Linked DNA regions of Homo sapiens: region 2 is linked to region 1. Evidence: promoter capture Hi-C in 16 types of primary human blood cells and fetal thymus (Javierre and others, 2016). All regions are on one chromosome and are shown on one strand. The core of a region is centred on a gene start or on the middle of the fragment in contact, and the rest is flanking DNA. Distances in the headings are between cores, read along the strand shown. Region 1 holds the start of UNC13A (unc-13 homolog A). Region 2 overlaps FCHO1 (FCH and mu domain containing endocytic adaptor 1).

Evidence for each region. The method cuts DNA at HindIII sites, captures the fragments that hold promoters and counts their contacts. A CHiCAGO score of 5 or more calls a contact.
Region 2: a fragment that was not itself captured here is called in contact with the fragment with the promoter of UNC13A in region 1 in 4 of 17 cell types (M2 macrophages, M0 macrophages, M1 macrophages and 1 more); the score reaches 8.5 in M2 macrophages.

The regions. Positions count from the first base shown.
Region 1 is chr19:17,685,653-17,690,500 of GRCh38, forward strand. It overlaps UNC13A (unc-13 homolog A), which reads right to left and starts at 2,702. Exons shown (of 44, transcript NM_001080421.3): 1 at 2,526-2,702. The coding sequence starts at 2,547. RefSeq lists enhancers at 882-1,843, 1,844-2,804 and a silencer at 2,038-2,220. The HindIII fragment of the contact is 13,980 bases long and covers 1-4,848 here.
Region 2 is chr19:17,769,591-17,774,438 of GRCh38, forward strand. FCHO1 (FCH and mu domain containing endocytic adaptor 1) reads left to right here. Exons shown (of 29, transcript NM_015122.3): 8 at 835-987; 9 at 1,202-1,306; 10 at 2,867-2,965; 11 at 3,055-3,151; 12 at 4,649-4,693; 13 at 4,804-4,848. Among named protein-coding and RNA genes, the nearest start is that of FCHO1, 21 kb to the left of the region's middle. The HindIII fragment of the contact is 7,982 bases long and covers 1-4,848 here.

The sequences.
Region 1 (4,848 bases), core at 1,452-3,951:
CTTGTGTTCACACAGGCATTTGAGTACACACGTGTGCCTACGGAATGTGCCTTCCCAGGCACATGGTCTGCGTAGAGCCTTCATACATCCTAAGCATTTGTGTCCACACAGGAACAAGTCTGGGTATGAATGTGTGTAGGGATTGGCAAACGCCTGTGGGTCCCCGGTGGAGGGGAGGGGGGACAGGTATTTCCTCAGCTGAGCTCAGGCAACACGGCAACCCATCTCAGCCTAGCTTCACTCCTGCCAAGCCCACCCCAACATCTCTCGTGCTCAGCCATCCCAGCCCCTCCCCTCTCTGGGCACCATCCCACCTCTCCCTGGGAGACTGGCCTCACCCAGCACTTCTCCCTCTCCCCACCCCTCCCTGCCTCCTACTCCTCCTCACTCCAACCTCACACCTCCCTTTACACCTGAGGGCCTTACCTCCCACCCCTGTCAACCTCTTCCCCAGCCTTGCCCCTCCCAGCGATTCCTCTCCACTCAGCCGGGCCCCTCCCTGTAAAGTCCACAGAATCCAGCACAGTCCTCCCCCAACGTCTCTGTTTCTGGAAGCCTCATCCCTCTTGCCTCCTGCTGCCCCCCCTTAATGCCACCCCCGCAGCCGAGCCTCCTGTTTGCGTCAGAGTTAAGGGTGAGATCCCCGCCCCCCCCCCCCCCCCCCCACTCCACTAGGCAAACCTTCCAGAGAAGCCCAACTTGGAGGATGTGAGGCGGGGTGGGGCGGGATGCTGGGGGGAGAAGAGAGAGGATAGAGGAGTCAGCCAAGAACACCCACGTCGGAACCTCCTCCAGTGCCACCTTTAAGAGCCCGGCTACTTAGAGCAGGGGGAGAGGTCAGTAGGGGGTCTGGACATTCAAGTTCTCCTCCCATTCCGTCCTCAGGCCTAGGCGGTGGGGGTCGCCTAGGGGTCTCCTTCACTTCCCTACTCCCCTAACTCCATAGGCCTGGAGGCTAGGGGATGGAGGAGTTGACCTTTGACTCTAGGGACCCTTCTTCCACCACCCCCAGCCCCGTCCAGCAGAAACGAGCTTAGAGAAAGTAGGCCCCTGTCCCTTTAAGAACACCCGCGTCCACGCCGGCCCAGCCCGGCCGGATTTGCACTCGGAAGCTGCCGCGGCGGGGAGCGGGCGGGCGGGGCAGGGTTTGTGAATGAATCGGCCGAGGGGGAGGGGAGGGAGGAGGAGGGGCGGCGGGGGCGGTTCCCGGCTCCCCGGCCTGCCCACCCTGTGTCCAGGCAGCAGGAGTTCAGCACACGCACGCTTCCTGTCGCCCGAGGTCTCCCGAAGCCTGCAGTCTCAGGCTTGGCAGACACACCCCTTCCCCCACCCCAGCCTTCTTGAAATGGGTGGGAGTGACGGGGGGACCCCAGTCCTTAAGAACCAGGGGTTCAGAGCTCTGTAGGCGTGGAACGGCGGTCCACATCCACCCCTGCCGCCCAAGGTCTCCCAGAGTTTGATTTCTCAAACGGGAGTGCCCAGAACGCCTGGGTTCGGTTGGGCTGGCTTCCCCACGACCCCAGAGCCATAAAGGTGTGGGGTGGGGGGTCATGCCCCTCCCACGTCTCCCTCCCTCCTCCAACCCCAACGCAGAGCGTGGGCCTGGGCGTGGGCCTCTGTGCAGATGGCGTTCTGGCCCCAAAATAGCTCCCCCCCCACCTCACGTCTCCCTCCCTCCCTCTCTCCAGTGCAAAGTGGGTGAGGTGAGGATGGGCCAGGAGGGGGACCAGGAGACATTGCTCTTCCAAGAAGTAGGCTCCCTGCCGAGAAGGCCCTGAAACGTGTTTGGGAGAACCGGAGGGGGCAGGGAGCGGGAAGACCTTCTGGACATTCCTCCAACCCCCTCACTCGGGAGGCCAAAGAGTTAACTGGAAAAGCGCCCCCAGACCTCCAGTCACAGCCCTCTCTGGACGCTGGGAGGGGTCTCCTGTCTCCACACTCCCCCCACTCCAGTCCTCTTTACACCTAGGGCTGGGAGAGTCCTAGAACTCGTGGATGCCCTGATGGCCAAGCCCCTCTACCTATATCTTACATCCCCACGGCTTGGAGAACCCTCCCACCGCACTCTCCTTCGAATTTCCAGCCGGGTCCGCGTCCATGAGGACCCGTAACCCAGCCCACAACACCAGACCCCTTCCAAGCACCCCTGCAGGCTTCAATCAAACTACCGAGCCCAGACTCTTCCTCACTGACCCTCTAAAAACCTGGTCTACACAGACGCCCCAGTCTAGATCGTTTCCGGGTAGAACCCCGGATACCCGTCCACGTCCACACGGGCCTCCGCGTTCAGCCGCGTCCACACGACCCCTCCAGCAGCGGCCACCAGGACCCCCGAGAGCCCTGCCGCGTCTACACGGATCACCCCCTCCGGGGCCCAGCTGCGTCGACAAGGGCTACCCCTCTCAAAAGTCCAGCCACCTGGACTCGGGTCACCCCCCAGGAACCCCCTGGGAGCCGCATCCACGCGGACCCCGACCCCAGCCCGCGTCCACACGGGTCCCCCGACCCCCAGCCTCGCCTCCTACCTCCAACGCAAAGCAGAGACATGTCTCCGAGCTCGCAGGTGGGCCGGAGGCGGCCGGGCCGGCTCTGTCGGGTCGGGCTCAGCGGCCGCTGGGCTGGGGCATCTCCCGGCTGCAGCCCGCGCTTGGCTCACGCCGGGGCCCGGCCGCCACCGGCCATCTTGGTTCAGCACCGGGGGCGCGGACAGCGCCTGACGTGGCGCTGATGCGGGGCGGGCAGGCGGAGCCCAGGGACGCCTGATGGGGCGGGGGCGCTGCGGGCTGGGGGGGCGTTAAAGGGCCTGGCTCCGGGAAGGGGCGCCTCGCCCCACACCTCCTCGTTGCAGGGGGACAAGGGGCGACGGCGGCCCCCAAGCAGGTTTCCTCCTGTGCAGACCCTCACCTGCACTGAAATGGTGCACGTGCCCCCGCCACCCATGCATGGACATTCCTGCCCTGGTAACCTGGGCAAACGCCTCCCTGCAATACTCAAGCAAGTACAGGCAAATGCAAGCTCTTGTGTGTACGCCCGGCACCAGCACCGGGCAGATGGTCCTGTTCTCTGAGTATCTCTCTTCCTCTGTCTCTACGTCTCTGTCTCTCTAACTCTACTGCCTGGTCTCTTTCTCTCCCTGGGTCTCTGTTCCTCTGACTCTGTCCACTGCTCTCTCAGTCATGTGTCTCTTAGCCTCTCTCTGTAAAGTCTTTTTGCAGCTCTACTGCATCCTGTCTAGGTCTCTCTCTATGTCTCTAAGCCATCCAGCCCATGGGTCCTTGCCCACACTCTGAACTCCTTTTCATCCATCAATGTCTTGTCTGAATATCCTCTCCTCCAGGAAGGCTTCCCTGACTGCCCCAAGCTGAGCCTTTGTTTCTCCTCTCTGGACTCCCCCAGCCCCTATCCCTTCCTCTGATTGGGCCCTGACCCGAACGAAACTCTGCCACTCCTCCCCACTTTTCTTTTTTTTAGATGGAGTCTCCCTCTGCAGCCCAGGCTGGAATGCAGTGACGCAATCTTGGCTCACTGCAACCTCTGCCTCCTGGGATCAAGAGATTCTCCTGCCTCAGCCTCCCCGAGTAGCTGGGACTACAGGCGCATGCCACCATGCCCAGCTTTTTTTTTTTATTTTATTTTTTTTATTTTTAGTAGAGACGAGGTTTCACCATGTTGGCCAGCCTGGTCTTGAACACTTGACCTCAGGGGATCCGCCCATCTCGGCCTCCCAAAGTGCTGGGATTCAGACCTGAGCCACTGCGCCTGGCCCCCTCCCCACATATCAAACTGGGCAGCTCCATGTGGGCCCCTTGCCCTGCAACCTGCTCGCTGTATCACTGGCACCTAAACTAGCATGAAAGGCTGAGCCCCACAGGGTCTCCTGCCCCCAGCCCACATGAAAGAGCTTCATAAATGCAGAATGTGCATGGAGTTGAGTGAGGCCATTGTTCAAAACCAAACTCTGTCTCTCATCACAAGCATGGCCTTGGGCAGGTCTTGTGACCTCCTCGTGCCTCAGTTTCCGCACCTGTAGAATGAATATGATAACAAGTCCTGCCTCACAAGGTTGCTGGAGGTATTACATGAGTTAACATGTGAAACCAGTTGTAATTTTTTTTTTTTTGGAGGTGTAGTCTCAATCTGTGGCCCAGGCTGGAGTGCAGTGGCACCATCTCAGTTCACTGCAACCTCAACCTCCAAGTGATCTTCCTGCCTCAGCCTCCTGAGTAGCTGGGATTACAGGCGCTCGCCACCACATCCAGCTAATTTTTTTGTATTTTTTGTAGAGATGGGGTTTCACCATGTTGGCCAGGCTGGTCTCAAACTCCTGACCTCAAGTGATCCACCCACCGTGGCCTCCCAAAATGCTGGGATTACACGAATGAGCCACCGCGCCTGGCCCCAGTTGTAATCTTAATGCCTAATAGTAACCATGTTTGTATCTGTCACTGCTTTAAATTTTTAAAAAAATCAGCACAGCTAATTTTTGTATTTTTTGTAGAGACAGAGTTTCACCATGTCGCACAGGCTGTCTCAAACTCCTGGGCTCAAGTGATCCTCCCGTCTCAGCCTCCCAAAATGTTGGGATTACAGGCTCATGAGCCACCATGCCTGGTCTTAAATTTTTATTAAACATCAATGAGTAGATGTTTTATTAAACATTGATAATCAATAAAACATTGATGTTTTATTAAACATCAATGAGTAGATAAACTATGAGGAGCAGGCTTGGATAAAAAAAATTACCATCGACCGGGCTCGGTGGCTCACGCCTATAATACCAGCACTTTGGGAGGCTGAGGCGGGGTGATCACAAGGTCAGGAGATCGAGACCATCCTGGCTAACACGGT
Region 2 (4,848 bases), core at 1,111-3,610, 84 kb after region 1:
ACACACACACACACACACACACACACACACACACACACACACAAAACGGTGAGTTAAGCAACACAGTCTGCCACTGTTTGTCATAAAACTTGGGTTAGAACAAGCATCTTTATCCATATGCGGATTATTTCTAGAGAAGTATCACAGTAATAATTGGGGACTTCTAGGCTGGAGGGCCCATATATGGGAGGCTTTTTCCTGGCTTACCTCTTACAACTTTCTGAAATATGAACCATGTGTAAATAGTACTTTTTTTTAAAGTTAAAAATGTTTTGAAATGAAAAACGTACAGGCCGGGCGTAGTGGCTCACACCTGTAATCCCAACACTTTGGGAGGCTGAGGCAGGTGGATTGCTTGAGTGTAGGAGTTTGAGACCAGCCTGGGCAACATAGCAAGACCCCATTGCTATTAAAACACACACACAGAGGCCGGGCGTGGTGGCTCACACCTGTAATGCCAGCACTTTGGGAGGCCAAGGTGGGCAGATCACCTGAGGTCAGGAGTTAGAGACCAGCCTGGCCAACATGGTGAAACCCCGTCTCCACTAAAAATACAAAAAATTATCTGGGTGTGATGGTGAGCACCTGTAATCTCAGCTACTTGGGAGGCTGAGGCAGGAGAATTGCTTGAAACCGGGAGGCAGAGATTGCAGTGAGTCGAGATCGTGCCACTGCACTCCAGCCTGGACAACAAGAGCGAAACTCTGTCTAAAAAAAACCAAACCAAAACACACACACACACATAGAAAAAGACTGTGGAGCTGACATCACGTGGAGTGTTTGGGAGGTCAGGAATTTCACAGTCTACCCATGAAATCCCCTCCTACCCCGCAGTGCAAGGAGGAAGTGGTGAGCACCTTGGATGCTGTGCAGGTACTCTCGGGCGTCAGCCAGCTCCTGCCCAAGTCCCGCGAGAACTACCTGAACCGTTGCATGGACCAGGAGCGGCTGCGGAGGGAGAGTACCAGCCAGAAGGAGATGGACAAGGTGGGCTCACAGTGGGGGGGTTCTGAGGAATTTGCCGCGGGGCGGAGGGGCTGCCTGATCAGAGAGTGGAAACACATCCCAGAGCGACGGTCCTGGAACCTGTGGGTGATCACACCCTGGGTACCCCGAGGAGTTCACCTGCCAGGTGATGGGGCCTGGGGGAGGCCCCCTGAGTATCGCCCTCCCATCCCCGTTTCCTCCCTGTGCTTTGTAGGCGGAGACTAAAACCAAGAAGGCGGCAGAGAGCCTGCGGCGCTCAGTGGAAAAATACAACTCAGCCCGAGCTGACTTTGAGCAGAAGATGCTGGACTCAGCCCTGGTAAGAACCAGGCATCTGTACCTTTAAGACCCACACATGCCTTTGCCCTGGAGGTTATGGACTGCAGAAATCCCAGGCAGGGTGTGGTGGCTCACACCTGTAATCCCAGCACTTTGGGAGGCCGAGGCGGGAGGATCACCTGAGGTCAGGAGTTTGAGACCAGCCTGGCCAACATGGCGAAAGCCTGTCTCTACTAAAAATACAAAATTAGCCGGGCGTAGTGGCAGGTGCCTGTAATCCCAGCTACTCAGGAGGCTGAGGCGGGAGAATCACTTGAACCAGAAGGCGGAGGTTGCAGTGAGCCAAGATCGAGCCATTGTACTCCAGGTTAGGTGATAGAGTGGAACCCTGTCTCGAAAAAATAAAATAAATTCAAGCAGATTGGAATCTGAGGATTAGGAATCAGAACTTTTTTCAAGTTACAAGTGATAGAAGCCTTCATTCAAACCGACAGGTGTATATAAAAAAAAAAAAGAAAAGAAAAGAAAAAGGCTGGGCGCGGTGGCTCATGCCTGTAATCCCAGCACTTTGGGAGGCCGAGGCAGGTGGATCACGAGGTCAGGAGATCGAGACTATCCTGGCTAACACGGTGAAACCCCCTCTCTACTAAAAATACAAAAAAATTAGCCGGGCGTGGTGGTGGGTGCCTGTAGTCCCAGCTGCTCAGGAGGCTGAGGCCGGAGAATGGCGAGAACCCAGGAGGCGGAGCTTGCAGTGAGCCGAGATTGCGCCACTGCACTCCAGCCTGGGCGACAGAGCGAGACTCTGTCTCAAAAAAATAAAAAATAAAATAAAAAATAAAATTTAAAAAAACTGACAAGCTCAGGGAACTGTAAAGTTTTATTTTTGAGTTGTGGAGGTTTCAGTCATAGCTGAATCCATGTGCTCAAATAGTGCTGGCAGGAAATTGTGAATTTCTGCTTCTTTTATTTTTTTGAGATGGGATCTCTCTGTCACTCAGGCTGGAGTGCAGTGGCGTGATCTCAGCTCACTGCAACCTCCGCCTCCTGGGCTCAAGTGATTCTCCTGCCTCAGCCTCCCTAGTAGTTGGGATTACAGGCACGTGCCACCACACCCAGCTAATTTTTGTATTTTTAGTAGAAACGGTTTCACCATGTTGCCCAGACTGGTCTTGAATTCCTGACCTCAGATGATCCACCTGCCTTGGCCTCCCAAAGTGCTGGGATTACAGGCATGATACACCACAGCTGACCACTATTTCTGCTTCTTAAGTCTGTTTTTCTCTCTGGGGACATCACTCCCACACAGACATCCCCTTGTGTGTGTGTGTGTGTGCATGTGTGTGCAAGCATGCACATGTGTGCATCAAACTGGGCACCAGCAACCCCCACTTACATCCCATCAGCACATTGGCTCAGGAATGGAAGTGCCTTTTCCTGTAGAGTCAATGAAAGTCCTAGGGCAGACTCTCATTGGCCCTTCCCCAAATCAATCACTGAGCCAAGGGCTTAGGGTATTCTGATTGGTCAGGCTGAGTCATATGGCCACTTCTTCTTGGCCCTGACCTCCTTTCCACCTGCCTCTGCCCTCCTGCTTCAGCGCTTCCAAGCCATGGAGGAGACACACCTGAGGCACATGAAGGCACTGCTGGGCTCATATGCTCACTCGGTGGAGGACACGCACGTGCAGATTGGGCAGGTGAGTTGGGCAGGTGTGAGGAATGAGGCTGGGGTCACTGCTGGGCAAAGGGGCCTTGACCAGTTACACACCCCGCCCACCCGGCACAGGTGCATGAGGAATTTAAGCAGAACATCGAGAACGTCAGCGTGGAGATGCTACTCAGGAAGTTTGCAGAGAGTAAGGGCACAGGCCGGGAGAAGCCTGGTGAGTCAGGGCAGCCATTGGGGGTCGGGCTTCGGGGCCACAGCTGCAGACAGGCATGTGCCACCATGCCCAGCTAATTTTTTTTTTATTTTTTTATTTTTAATAGAGACGAGGTTTCACCATGTTGGCCAGGCTGGTCTCGAACTCTTGACCTCAGGTGATCTGCCTGCCTCGGCCTCCCAAAGTGCTGGGATTACAGGCGTGAGCCACTGCACATGGCCAGGCCTTGGTTTCTTCATGGGAAAAATGGGCTGCTGACAAGTCCAGCTCTCCAGCCTGATCTTATGTGTAAATGTCTTTGAACCAGATCCCAGAGGAGCCTTGAATGCCAGGCTTGGCTGATCAGACTTCACCCCCAGGGCCTAAGGGAGCCATTGAGGGTTGTTGAGCAAAAGAACAATTTGGGAATGCGCAGATGCAGGACTGGGAAGGAGTTAAGAGCAAAAGTTTTAGAGTGAGACGTGGGTTTGAGTCTTTTCTTCATCGCTTGCTGTGTGACCTAGGACCTGTGCTTTGACTTCTCTGAGCCTCAGTTTCCTCATCTGTAAAGTGAGGATGTAATAATGTTGCAACATTCAGTGATTTCATGCAGGTAAAGGGCAAAGGGTGTGCCAGGCACACAGTAGGCACTCACTAAATGCTGGTATACAGTTACGTCCTCAAGTCTTGTTAACTAGCAAAACCTGTTCTTTCTCCCTCCTGTCGCTCTGGCTCAGGCCTGGCTCAGGTCTCCCCTCCCTGCATGGGGCCCCACTCTTGCCCTTCACAGGCCCCAGATCTGTTTTGTCCTCCTCCTGCTCACACACCTTCCATGGCTCCCCATTGTTCTTGGGAGAGAGTTCCCACTCCTTATCCTGTCACTCAAAGCCCAGCCCACTGCACAGACGCATGGTCCATTCCCCGACCCAACCCAAGTTCCAGCCACAAATGCTGGAAGTATGTAGAAGTAGCTCATGTCACCCCCTGCGGTGGCACTGCCCTGCTGGAACCAGACCAGCCCCTTGGTCCATCCCACTTCTGATGATGTGGGGCTGGTTCTTGTCCGGGAACCTGATGGACCTTGAGTTCAGATCCAGGTGCCATTTTGTGGCCAAAAGTGTACTACCCTTTCCAAGCGCAGTCTCCCCACCCTCAATTTAGTTTCTTTCTCTCTCTCTCTCTCTTTTTTTTTTTTTTTTAATTTTTTTGAGGCAGAGTCTTGCTCTGTCACCCAGGCTGGAGTGCAGTGGTGCAGTCTCGGCTCACTGCAACCTCCGCCTCCTGGGTTCAAGCGATTCTCCTGCCTCAGCCTCCCCAGTAGCTGGGATTACAGGCGCCTGCCACCATGTCCGGCTTTTTTGTAATTTTAGCAGAGACAGGGTTTCACCATGGTGGCCAGGCTGGTCTTGAACTCCTGACCTCAGGTGATCCGCCCGCCTTAGCCTCCCAAAGTGCTGGGATTACAGGCATGGGCCACCGTGCCCAGCCCCTCAATTGAGTTTCCGTCTCCTGTCTCAGGACCTCTGGACTTCGAGGCATACAGTGCGGCTGCCCTGCAGGAAGGCAAGTACGTCTGGGCCTGGATGCCCAGGCTGGACCATGGGGGTGAGGGAGGCTGATCTGAATGTGAAAGGAGGCTCACAGTGCTCAGGTGCCCCCCAATCTATCCTCAGCGATGAAACGTTTGCGGGGAGCCAAGGCCTTTCGCCTTCCAGGAC